Linked DNA regions of Homo sapiens: regions 1, 2 and 4 are each linked to region 3. The links are contacts of gene promoters, found by promoter capture Hi-C in blood cells and fetal thymus (Javierre and others, 2016). All regions are on one chromosome and are shown on one strand. Each heading gives the region's core, a stretch centred on a gene start or on the middle of the fragment in contact. The rest is flanking DNA. Distances are from core to core; before and after follow the strand shown.

Region 1 (3,079 bases), core at 224-2,723, 310 kb before region 3:
GCTACATACAGAGGAAATGTGAAACCTAAAGTTTCAAAGACTGAAGTGACATGAAAATTAAATAAAGGAGGAACTTTTGAATGATCAATAGCTTCAGAGCTGAACCTCTAAAGGACTTCTTTAAGAATCAATACTGATACCATAACATTGATCCAAAAAGATAAGAAACGGCATCCTATCTTTTTATGAAAATGGAAAAGTCATATAAATTTAAAAGAAGCTGTGAGAACCGTGGGAGATTAGACACAGTAAAAGACACAAATCGTATTTGTCCCTCATTAATGTAAAGCAGGGGAATTGCCCTGCAGGTTTCCATGTGAGAATATGTTATGCTTTATGGTGGAAGGAGGGTAAAAAAGTCAAAACAACCAGACTTTACCCCTAGATTTAACTAAGGACTAGCTCGACCACATTCTAGTTGTGGGGCATTTAATTATGAGCTCAAGACTGGTGATCAGTGCTCTTATTATAATACCTACTCCACAAGTGTGTGAAGAATCAAGTGCCTAGCATCCTGTCTTGCGCCTCGGAGGCACTCAATAGACAGGAGTTTAAGTCATTGCTGAGAGGAAGATAAATGAACTTATGACTTCTCTGCAGGTCAAGCAACTCACTATACCGATGGCTTCAACCTTCCCACTGCATCATTTCTTCATGTTTTGCAGATCATGAGAAAATGCTGTCATTAGCCAAGTCAGATTGTCTTCTGAACCTTAGGTCAACAACTCTGCCACAGAAAGCCTGCTATGGGCATAATTGTGAAATTAAAGAGAATTTCTGCAATCTCAGATGGCACTTTCTGTCCTCCTTCTGGTCCCACCCCAGGTGTTCTTAATGAACAATCAGCTGTCGGAAAGCTGCCCTAATTCTGCCCCACAGGAAAGAACAACTTCTTAAAGTGTGGTTCTCAAACTCCATGTGTCAGCATCCCCTCAGACGCCACAGGGACAAGCGAGTGGGCTGTCGAGATTGGAACATCCTGAAAACTGCTCAAAATATTCCACATGAAAAAACAAAGAAGTATTTTACCTGTGCGGGGATAGGATTGCAGACCCACAGGAAGTTTTTCTCCACTCTATTATCACAGAAAGGGATGCTCTGAGAATTCATGAACGATTGGGGTTTCTGTTCTGCATTTTTAAAAAGAGGGAGTTTGAAAGTAAGAGAACATTAATCCGATGGAAATGTGTTAAAAATTGATAAGTAAGACTGGAGCATTTGTATTTTGTGTAAATCTCTATTTGTTTTATGTGTTTAAATACCCACCAACAGAAAAACATTTTTAAATTAAAAGAAACCCCACTATCATTTTAAATTAAATTAAAAGAAGTCCTGCAAGTTTGTGAATTGTTAAGAGCTTTGAAATATAGAATTTGCAGAAACACACATAGCTGTAGGATAAAGAACATGATCCATCAGAGTCCGGGTCAGGAAACTAGAAAGCATATTATAACAGATGGAATGTATTATAAATTAATTATAATCAGTTATAAGGAATTGGCTAAGCTAAATAGAGAAGGTAGAATAAAGGGAAGAAATTGCGGTTCCGTCCCAGGTGTTCCTAATGAGCAATCAGCTGTCTGAAAGCTGCCCTAATCAGAGAAGATGCCCGGCAGAGCCATTGTCAGACTCGGACCAGATCTCTGAGGAGAGGGCACTGCCTGGCTGCTATGGGTAACTTTGCAGAAAAAGTGTAGAAAGAAGGTGGAGACTAGAACCAGACCAATTGCTGCTGCCAAGAGAGGGCGGTTGTTGCTGGCGGATGCCGCTGCCAGGAACAGGGACTTCTCCTTCCCTCCCTCCCTTTCTAGCCTTCCAGCAAGCATCCAGTGCCTCCCTCTCAGAGAAGCCTCACAGGCAGCCAAAACTCTATTTCCTATCATCCCAGCCCCAGTGCCATAAAGCTGAGTAAGGAAAGGTGGGTTTGAAGTAGAGAGACAATAGCTTCATAAACCAGCACACTGTCTTCTTAGGAAACCCTTCAAGTAAACTGAAGTAGATTAAAAAAAAAAATCACAGCAGATGCTTCAGCTGGTAACTGCAGTTTGCAAACAAAGAACCGCACTGCTGTAACCCGAGTGGGGAAGCCTCTGCTTATGCCATAGTGATCTTTGCAACTATCCATGCACACAAATAATTTTCTCATGTATTTACTCACCCAGGAAGTATTTACTGAGTTCCTTCTATTTCTAGGCATTTCCTAGGAAGTGGAGTGGGTATAACAGTGAACAACACAGGCAAATTCCCTGTCCTTGTGGAGGTGATGTTGTAACAGGATAGGCAGACAACAAGCATGCTAAAAATAGCCGGTAGTGCTAAGTGTAAAAAGACTGAAGATATGTGGGAACAAAGGGGTATCCAATCCACTTCCTTTTCCTAATGCAACAAACACATAACATTTTAATAAAAACAACTGATTATGCTAGCTCACATGGGCTAATATTTTACATTAACTTTCTTTCATAAGCCATCATTTCATCTGTCGGTGGTTCATACTAAGCAGCCTGGCTCACATCATATCTCTTAAAACAATAAGACCCAGAACCCTAAGATTCACCACTTCTGGTGAGAGCCAAAGTACATATACATGAGCTCCAGCCCTGCACACTGAGGTGGATGAGCTTCAGGACATTCTCTTTAAGACTGTTCTTGTGTCCCAGACATAGCATGTAGGGGTCTGAAATAATCCTCAAAGAGCTTTAATGATGAACTTTGCAAGAGAAGATATTTGGGAGAAGTAGAAAACCAGAGGACATGTTTCAGAGACTGGTCCTTCTTTTCAAACTTCAGGGGAAAATCACCTACTTGTATCTTAGCGTATAGTTGGTTGCCTGAATGAAATAATTTCAAATGATGGTTATTCTAATTCTGTCATATTTTTTACTTTAGGCAAAATAAATATTACAAATGTCTTGACTCCAATTTGTTTTGCTTCTTCAAGGCACCATAACTACTGAAATATTGAGGATATAAATCAAACCTGTTGTGTACATATTTCTTGTGGTGACCTATGTTAGAAAAATAACTGAGGCTGTAGCATGCATTTACTAATCCTTCATTTAAATGCCATGCAGCAGCT
Region 2 (2,989 bases), core at 388-2,887, 440 kb after region 3:
AGACAAGGGCAGGCTTCAAACAGGGAGGCCTGTGGCAACCCCTCCCCTATGTCTGAAGCTGAGGGGATGGGGGAGCTAAGAACAAAGGAAAGAAGAGAAAAGTGTCCAGGGAACAGGTGGGGACCATGGTCTTCTTGCCCCATCTTCCTCAGGGGTTGGGGGGTACAGAGTTGGTGGTGGCCCATCCTGCTAGGTCCCACTGCCCCTCAGAAGAGGCCCCAGTCCTTCAGGTTGTTCTTGATGATGACGTCGGTGATGGCATCAAACACGAACTACGTTCTTGGTATCGGTGGCGCATGTGAAGTGTGTGTAGATCTCCTTGGTGTCTTTGTGCTTATTCAGGTCCTCAGACTTACTCTGGTTGTAGCTGGCTGCCTCATCATACTTGTTGGACCCTGTGTACTCAGGGAAGCAGATGGTCAGGGGCTGTGTGTGATCTTCTCCTCCAACAGCTCCTTCTTGTTGAGGAAGTAGATGATGGACGTGTTTGTGAACCACTTGTTGCAGATGCTGTCAAACAGCTTTTATCCCCTAAGAAAAGACACACTAGTCTTATAATTCTTACCGTCTGTGTTTTCTCATCTGTAGTACTTGATTTTACTCTGAGATGGAATTCAACTTGGGTTTTGGTTTCTGAGTCTGGAGTCATGCACATGGTTTTCCCCCTTCCATCTTTATCAAAACTGTCCCTATCACCAGAGGGAAAGGATTTACCAATTCCTCCTTTAAAAGAGTATCCTGGCGGCCAGGCCTGGTGGATCATGCCTGTAATTCCAGCACTTTGGGAGGCCGAGGTGGGTGGATCACCCGAAGGTCAGGAGTTCGAGACCAGCCTGGCCAACATGGAGAAACCCTCATCTCTACTAAAAATACAAAAATTAGCCAGGGGTGGTGACGGGCGCCTGTAATCTCAGCTACTCGGGAGGCTGAGACAGGAGAATTGCTTGAACCCGGGAGGTAGAGGTTGCAGTGAGCTGAGATCATGCCATTGCACTCCAGCCTGGGCAACAAGATTGAAACTTCGTGTCACACACACACACACACACACACACACAACGGGCATGGTGGCTCACGCCTGTAATCCCAGCACTTTGAGAGGCCAAGGTGGGCCGATCATGAGGTCAGGAGATTGAGACCATCCTGGCTAACACAGTGAAACCTCACCTCTACTAAAAATACAAAAACTTAGCTGGGTGTGGTGGCATGCACCTGTAGTCCCAGCTACTAGGAGGCTGACGCAGGAGAATTGCTTGAACCCAAGAGGTGGAGGTTGCGGTGAGCCGAGATCGCGCCACTGCACTCCACACTCCAGCCTGGGTGACAGAGCGAGACTCTGTCCCAAAAAAAAAAAAAAAAAAAAAATGGATCCTAGCTGGGCGAGGTGGCTCACGCCTGTAATCCCAGCACTTTGGGAGGCTGAGGTGGGTGGATCGCTTGAGGTCAGGAGTTTGAGACCAGCCTGGCCAACATGGCAAAACCCCGTCTCTACTAAAAATATAAAAATTAGCTGGGCATGGTGGTGGGTGCCTGTAATCTGAGCTACTAGGGAGGGGATACAGGAGAATCGCTTGAACCCGGCAGGCAGAGGTTGCACTAAGCTGGGATCGTGCCACTGCAGTCCAGCCTGGGTGACAGAGCAAGACTCAGTCTCAAAAAAAAAAAAAAAGATTCTACTCCTGGCCAGGGACTCATCCAAGCAGAAGTCTAATGCCACAGAATTTCAAGTAGGCAATTTGCATCTCTGAAAACCTTCAGATGAGAGAGAGAGAGAGGGGCCACCAATTCACTGGATTTCAGCCCAACACAAGAGTAATGTCTTTGGGGCTTTTTTTTTTTTTGAGACAGGGTCTCACTCTGTCACTGATGCTAGCTAGAGTGCAGTGGCCTGATCCTGGCTCCCTGCAGCCTTGACTTCTGGGCTCAAGTGATCCTCTCACCTCAGCCTCCAGAGTAGCTGGGACTATAGGCATGCACCATCACACTTGGTTATTTTTTTCTATTTTTCTTTTTTTTTTTGAGACAGAGTCTCACTTTGTTGCCCAGGCTGGAGTGCAGTGGTGCAATCTCTGGTCACTGTAACCTCCACCTCCCTGGTTCAAGCGATTCTCCTGCCTCAGACTCCCTAGTAGCTGGGATTACAGGTGCCTACCACCAAGCCTGGCTAATTTTTGTATGTTTAGTAGAGATGGGCTTTCGCCATGTTGACCAGGCTGGTCTTGAACTCCTGACCTCAAATGATCCACCCGCCTGGGCCTCCCAAAGTGCTGGGATTACAGGCATGAGCCACCATGCCTGGCCTATTTATTTTTTTATTTTTTCACAGAGACAGGGTCTCTCTGTGTTGCTCTGGCTGCCCTCAAACTCCTGGCTTCAAGTGACTCCTACCTCTGCCTCCCAGTGAGGTGGGATCACAGGCATGAGCCACTGTGCCCTGCCTGGAGCATTTCTTCACCTAAGCAAATTAGCTGTTCTAAAAGCTGTGCTAGGTGTTGGAGGACATTTGAAGCACAGCTTTATTGTGTATTTATTGCAAGGTTTTGATTGACTCGTTGTGAAACTGGTAGGATTTCCCTAACTGACTACAAAATTCTGTGACTTTCACTTCTTTTTTTTTTTTTTTTTTTTTTTGGGATGGAGTTTCGCTCCTGTTGCCCAGGCTGGAGTGCAATGGCACGATCTCAGCTCACCACAACCTCCGCCTCTGGCGTTCAAGAGATTCTCCTGCCTCAGCCTCCCGAGTAGCTGGGATTACAGGCATGCGTCACCACACCCGGCTAATTTGTGTTTTTAGTAGAGACAGTTTCTCCATGTTGGCCAGGCTAGTCTCGAACTCCTAACCTCAGGTGATCTGCCCACCTCAGCCTCCCAAAGTGCTGGGATTACAGGCGTGAGCCACCACGCCCGGCTGACTTTCACTTCTTTTAACTGGTTCAGGGTAATCAATAGTTGAGAGACCGAATATTGAGGTCAGAAAAACTCAAAGCTCTGA
Region 3 (3,073 bases), core at 250-2,749:
AATGTATCTATGTTGTTCATGGCTATATCTTCAGTGCCTTGCCAATGCTCAACACATAGTCAAATCTTAATAAGTAGTTGCTGCTTAACCTACAGAATGGGAGAAAACTTTTGCAATCTATCCATCTGGCAAAGGGCTAATATTCAGAATCTACAAAGAACTTAATCAAATTTACAAGAAGAAAACAAATAACCCCATCAAGAAGTGGGCAAAGGATATGAACAGACAATTCTCAAAAGAAGACATTTACGCAGCCAAGAAACATGAAAAAAAGCTCATCATCACTGGTCATTAGAGAAACGCAAATCAAAATCACAATGAGATACCATCTCATGCCAGTTAGAATGGCAATCATTAAAAAAGTCAGGAAACAACAGATGCTGGAGAGGATGTGGAGAAATAGAAACGCTTCTACCCTGTTGGTGGGAGTGTAAATTAGTCCAACTATTGTGAAAGACAGTGTGGCAATTCCTCAAGGATCTAAAACCAGAAATACCATTTGACCCAGCAATCCTATCACTGGGTATATACCCAAAGGATTATAAATCACTCTACTATAAAGACACATGCACACATATGTTTATTGCAGCACTGTTCACAATAGTAAAGACTTGGAACCAACCCAAATGCCCATCAATAATAGACTGGATAAAGAAAATGTGGCACATATACACCATAGAATACTATGCAGCCATAAAAAGGATGAGTGCATGTCCTTTGCAGGGACATGGATGAAGCTGGAAACCATCATTCTCAGCAAACTAACACAAGAACAGAAAACCAAATACCGCATGTTCTCACTTGTAAGTGGGAGTTGAACAATGAGAACACATGGACACAGGGAGGGGAAAATCATACACCAGGGCCTGTTGGGGGGTGGGGGGCTAGGGGAGGGATAGCATTAGGAGAAATGCCTAACGTAGATGGCGGGTTGATGGGTGCAGCAAACCACCATGGCATGTGCATACCTACGTAACAAACCTGCACGTTCTGCACATGTATCCCAGAACTTAAAGTATATATATATATACACTTTATATATATATATATATATATATATATATATACACTTTATATATATATATATATATATATATATATACACTTTATATATATATATATATATATATATATACACTTTATATATATATATATATATACTTTATATATATATATAAAGTTAAGGATTTCGTTTCAATGTGCAGCTAAAACTTAAGCACTAATAGTCAATTGTAGCTGTGTTTTCCTAAAGCCCTTTGACCTTTATTTTCCACTTCACAAAGTTTGTTACATATATGATGTATTGCCCTCTTTCTCTTTTCCCTCTTCCCAGTGATGCATCACAAATTATTGCATTTTTATTGGGTGAGGCCCAGCTAATCTCTCTGTTTATAGCTCTGACCTTTCTGGGTGCAAACACAAAGTGAACTTTGGTTTATCTCCTGCCATAACGTAGCTGCTAATTACTGGCAAGCAGGCTGTGTTCCACGGCCCATGTGACCAGTTGGGCATGACCAGAGAGAAGCGTGGGGAAGAGTGGGCTGAGGGACTCCACTAGAGGCTGTCCATCTGGATTCCCTGCCTCCCTAGGAGCCCAACAGAGCAAAGCAAGTGGGCACAAGGAGTATGGTTCTAACGTGATTGGGGTCATGAAGACGTTGCTGTTGGACTTGGCTTTGTGGTCACTGCTCTTCCAGCCCGGGTGGCTGTCCTTTAGTTCCCAGGTGAGTCAGAACTGCCACAATGGCAGCTATGAAATCAGCGTCCTGATGATGGGCAACTCAGCCTTTGCAGAGCCCCTGAAAAACTTGGAAGATGCGGTGAATGAGGGGCTGGAAATAGTGAGAGGACGTCTGCAAAATGCTGGTAAGAAAATGTTAATAGAATCTTCCTCCACTCTGTTACTACCTCTGGGGACAAAATGTTGCTAAGCAAAGACCTTGTGTTCTTTGATCACACAACTTTCTCTAAGGACTGTCCCTAAACCCCTTTCTATTTCATGACAGTAGCTCCTTAGAGAGAAGAATTTGAACCCTATTATGCTGTGCTCACTCACACTTCACCTTGCTCTGGGACTAGCCCTGACTCAGGAAATGTAAAGTGTTCACGGCAGTGAAACGTCCCAGTTAAAACTGGGTTTAGGCCAGATGTGGTGGCTCACGTCTGTAATCTCAGCAATTTAGGAGGCCAAGGAAGGAGGGACACTGAGCCCGGGAGTTCAAGACCAGCCTGGGCAACATAGCAAGACTCCATCTCTTCAAAAAGAAAATAAATAAAAATAAACTCAGTTTATTGCCCGGTTCCAGGAAGGCATTATGTTTCCTTCTGTACTCAGAGGTAAGATTTGGTCTAGACCTAAGATTTCACAGGGATACTAATCAAGAAGATGAATTAAGACAGTCAATTTCACATAGACACCAAATCTTTCTCTGGGCCTTTTATCCAGAGAAAGACATTTGTCTCTGGCCTGTTCACTCTTTTTTTTTTTTTTTTTTTTGAGATGGAGTCTCACTCTGTCACCCAGGCTGGAGTGCAGTGGCACGATCTCGGCTCACTGCAAGCTCTGCCTCCCAGGTTCACGCCATTCTCCTGCCTCAGCCCCCCGAGTAGCTGGGACTACAGGTGCCCACCACCATGCCTGGCTAATTTTTTGTATTTTTAGTAGAGAGGGGGTGGTCTGTTCACTCTTTACATTTCCTGTGGCTGTGATTACTAGACATAGTTAATATAAAACATTTGCAATCAAATTCATTGTTGCAGTTCTTCATTGTACCTTTTAGTTATAAAAATAAATTTTATAACATTACATGAAATGTGTAAAATAAAGGGGGAAAAAAAGCAGCCATGATTCCCAGCCACCTGGATGTTTCCAGTCTGTTTTCATGTGCTTCTTAGCTTCCTGTTTTTAAGAACGTGGTTGGTGATCACTATGGCATAGAAACAGTTTTGGATCCTTCTGGTTCACTTCACATTATTGCACAAGTGACTTTCCTAGAGCGTCATGGCCTTTCTAGTCATCATGTGAATTGATATATAATATCCGCCAGATATTATAATATCCAGTATGTATTAT
Region 4 (3,135 bases), core at 126-2,625, 470 kb after region 3:
ACTTTTTGTAGATATGAGGTCTATGTTGCCCAGACTTGTCTCAAACTCCTGGTCTCAAGTGATTCTCCTGCCTCAGCCTCCCAAAGTGCTGGGATTATAGAAGTGAGCCACTGTCTCTGGCCTGAATCACTGTTAAAGTCAGAAAACTAAATTTAACTAGATGAGGGTCTATAAATGTAATCCTGAGAATAGTTGTACCAAAACTAACCTCAGCAGATTTAAATGTTTGAATCAAAAGTCACTACACCAATTTCACAACAATTTCAAATAGCTCATTATTCTTATTTTATTCTTTAATTAAATATTTGAATTAACACACATTTGGTCTTTATCATTTTACATATATTTTCAAACAGAATCCTCAAAGCTTTAACTTTTAAGTGAAAGAAAATTAATTAATGGTACATGATTTTTATAAATGCTTCCCATACTAGTGTTAATAGTGTATGAAATACATAACATTAAACTAACTAGACAATTCAGTACTGTTGCGTTTAACCACTGTGTTATTAAGATAGAGGAAGGGCTGGGCGTGGTGGCTCACGCCTGTAATCCCAGCACTTTGGGAGGCCGAGGCGAGTGTATCATGAGGTCAGGAGATTGAGACTATCCTGGCTAACACGGTGAAACCCCGTCTCTACTAAAAATAAAAAAAAATTAGCCAGACGTGGTGGCGGGCACCTATAGTCCCAGCTAGTAGGGAGGCTGAGGCAGGAGAATGGCGTGAACCTGGGAGGCGGAGCTTGCAGTGAGCCGAGATCACGCCACTGCACTCCAGCTTGGGCGACAGAGCGACTCTGTCTCAAAAAAACAAAAAAACAAAAATATTTTGTGAAGACATACCAAGTATGGTGTCCAGACCCTACTTCAGTGAAGGAATTGTTTTCCCAACTACTGGGAGTGCTACGAGGGGAAAGCCTTCAGCTAGCAGTGTCTTCAGGGACTGCATCAGCTTCCTGTGTGACTAAGGTGGGGCACCCTTACCAGGACAGCCTACATCCAGTGATCAAGGTGGAGGTATAAAGGCCTGGCTGTTTTAGTCCACTGTGGGACAACTCTGCCAATTCAGCTTCCTTTTAAGAAAATTAAGCTAGGGTCAGGCGTGGTGGCTCACGCCTGTAATCCCAGCACTTTGGGAGGCCAAGGCGAGTGGATCACGAGGTCAGGAGATCGAGACCACACTAGCTAACACGTTTAAACCCCATCTCTACTAAAAATACAAAAAATTAGCTGGACATGGTGGCGGGCACCTGTAATCCCAGCTACTCGGGAGGCTGAGGCAGGAGAATGGCATGAACCTGGAAGGCGGAGCTTGCAGTGAGCTGAGATTGCGCCACTGCACTCCAGCCTGGGAGGCAGGGATACTGTCTCAAAAAAAAAAAAAAAAAAAAAGAAAATTCATCTGGGATTTTTTTTTCTTTTCTTTCTTGAGACAGAGTCTCGCTCTGTTGCCCAGGCTGAAGTGCAGCGGCGCAATCTTGGCTCACTTCAACCTTGGCCTCCTGGGTTCAAGCGATTCTGCTGCCTCAGCCTCCTGAGTAGCTGGGATTACAGGGGCCTGCCACTGTGCCCAGCTAATTTTTTTGTATTTTTAGTAGAGATGGGGTTTCACCATGTTGGCCAGGCTGGTCTTGAACTCCTGACCTCAAGTGATCTGCCCACCTCGGCCTTCCAAAGTGCTGGGATTACAGGCGTGAACCACCACGCCCTGCCCTTTTTTCTTTTTTCTTTTCTTTTATTTTTTTTGACGGAGTCTTGCTCTGTCACCCAGGCAGGAGTGCAGTAGTGCAATCTCGGCTGGCTGAAAGCTCCGCCTCCCGGGTTCATGCCATTCTCCTGCCTCAGCCTTCCGAGTAGCTGGGACTACAGACGCCCGCCACCACGCCCAGCTAACTTTTTGTATTTTTAGCAGAGACGGGGTTTCACCATGTTAGCCAGGATGGTCTTGATCTCCTGACCTTGTGATTGCCTGCCTTGGCCTCCCAAAGTGCTTGAGATTATAGCCTTCTGTTTTTTTTTGTTTTTTTTTTTTTTTTTTTTTTTGAGCCAAGATATGGCTGTGTTGCCCAGGCTGGAATGCAGTGGAATGAACCCGGCTCACTGCAACCTCCTGGGCTCAAGTGATCCTCCCACCTCAGCCTCCTGAGTAGCTAGGACTACAGGCACCTACCACCACTCCCAGCTATTTTTTTTTTTTTTGTATTTTTTGTAGAGATGGGGTTTTGCCATGTTGCCCACACTGGTCTTGAACTCCTTGTCTCAATCGATCTGCCTTCCTTGGTGTGAGTCACTGTACCAGGCTGGGATTCTTTTTTTTTTTTTATGGCAGCAAGATTTAGTAAAGCGAAAGGGAAAGTAAAGGGAACGCAAAAGTAAAGCTTCCATGTGGTGGAAGGGGACCCAGAAGGATTGTGTTTTTTGGCTTGGGTGTCTTATGCTTATATCCCCTTATGACTCCTCCCCTTTTCTTTTTCTGTCCTATAGGATTGGCTAATTTTCTATCCACTTGTGGGTTGGCAGACCTGATTGGTTAAAAACATCAGGCTGCAGCTAGAGCTTGAACTCCCTATATGATTGGTTGAAGTTTCAATCCCTTAGTTTGTAGCTGTGACTCATTTTGGCTTAGGGGAAAGTCCCCTTTGATTGGTTGAAGTTTCAATCCCTTTAGCTTGCAGCTATGACTAATTTTGGCTTAGGGGAAAATCCCCTTTGATTGGTTGAAGTTTTAATCTCTTAGCTTGCAGCTATGACTCATTTTGGCTTAGGGGAAAGTCACTTTAGGGAAGTCCCTATTGACCCAGGAAGTCCAGCCAATTTAGCCACTTAGTCCCTCAGTCCCCCCTTTCAACAGGAAAGCCCAAGTGCTGTTGGGAAGTTGGATGACGATTGTTCTAGCTACTTCCTGCTGAACTGGGGGGTAGAAGGGGCACTGCAGTTGAGGTTTCCTCAGGAGGGGAGTCTTTGGTGTCGTGGTGTGAGAACAGGTTGGTGGGTGGGTCTAGGGGTGCTTGATAGTAGGTGCTAGTGGTGGTCACTTGGGGCTCCATTTGTAGAACCATTTGCAGCTTCATGGATTCTATTCTGGAAGAGGCAAATTTTACAAGGAGGTTAAAAATGCAGGGTCCAAAGATAAGC

Evidence for each region. Contacts are between HindIII fragments. The CHiCAGO score rates a contact against its expected background, and 5 or more counts as called.
Region 1: a fragment that was not itself captured here is called in contact with the fragment with the promoter of GUCY2C in region 3 in 1 of 17 cell types (neutrophils); the score reaches 7.1 in neutrophils.
Region 2: a contact is called between a fragment that was not itself captured here and the fragment with the promoter of GUCY2C in region 3, in 1 of 17 cell types (monocytes). The highest score is 5.2, in monocytes.
Region 4: a fragment that was not itself captured here is called in contact with the fragment with the promoter of GUCY2C in region 3 in 6 of 17 cell types (M0 macrophages, total B cells, neutrophils and 3 more); the score reaches 6.8 in M0 macrophages.

The regions. Positions count from the first base shown.
Region 1 is chr12:15,000,986-15,004,064 of GRCh38, reverse strand. LINC01489 (long intergenic non-protein coding RNA 1489) reads right to left here and starts at 2,232. Exons shown (of 4, transcript NR_120466.1): 1 at 2,159-2,232; 2 at 1,030-1,130. The HindIII fragment of the contact is 3,304 bases long and covers 1-3,079 here.
Region 2 is chr12:14,252,449-14,255,437 of GRCh38, reverse strand. It overlaps the pseudogene GNAI2P1. Among named protein-coding and RNA genes, the nearest start is that of ATF7IP, 110 kb to the left of the region's middle. The HindIII fragment of the contact is 4,306 bases long and covers 1-2,989 here.
Region 3 is chr12:14,695,025-14,698,097 of GRCh38, reverse strand. GUCY2C (guanylate cyclase 2C) reads left to right here and starts at 1,499. Exons shown (of 27, transcript NM_004963.4): 1 at 1,499-1,866. The coding sequence starts at 1,650. The region is part of intron 4 of GUCY2C-AS1 (GUCY2C antisense RNA 1); the gene reads right to left. The HindIII fragment of the contact is 11,701 bases long and covers 1-3,073 here.
Region 4 is chr12:14,220,808-14,223,942 of GRCh38, reverse strand. No RefSeq gene overlaps it. Among named protein-coding and RNA genes, the nearest start is that of ATF7IP, 140 kb to the left of the region's middle. RefSeq lists enhancers at 2,576-2,875, 2,717-3,135. The HindIII fragment of the contact is 2,011 bases long and covers 370-2,380 here.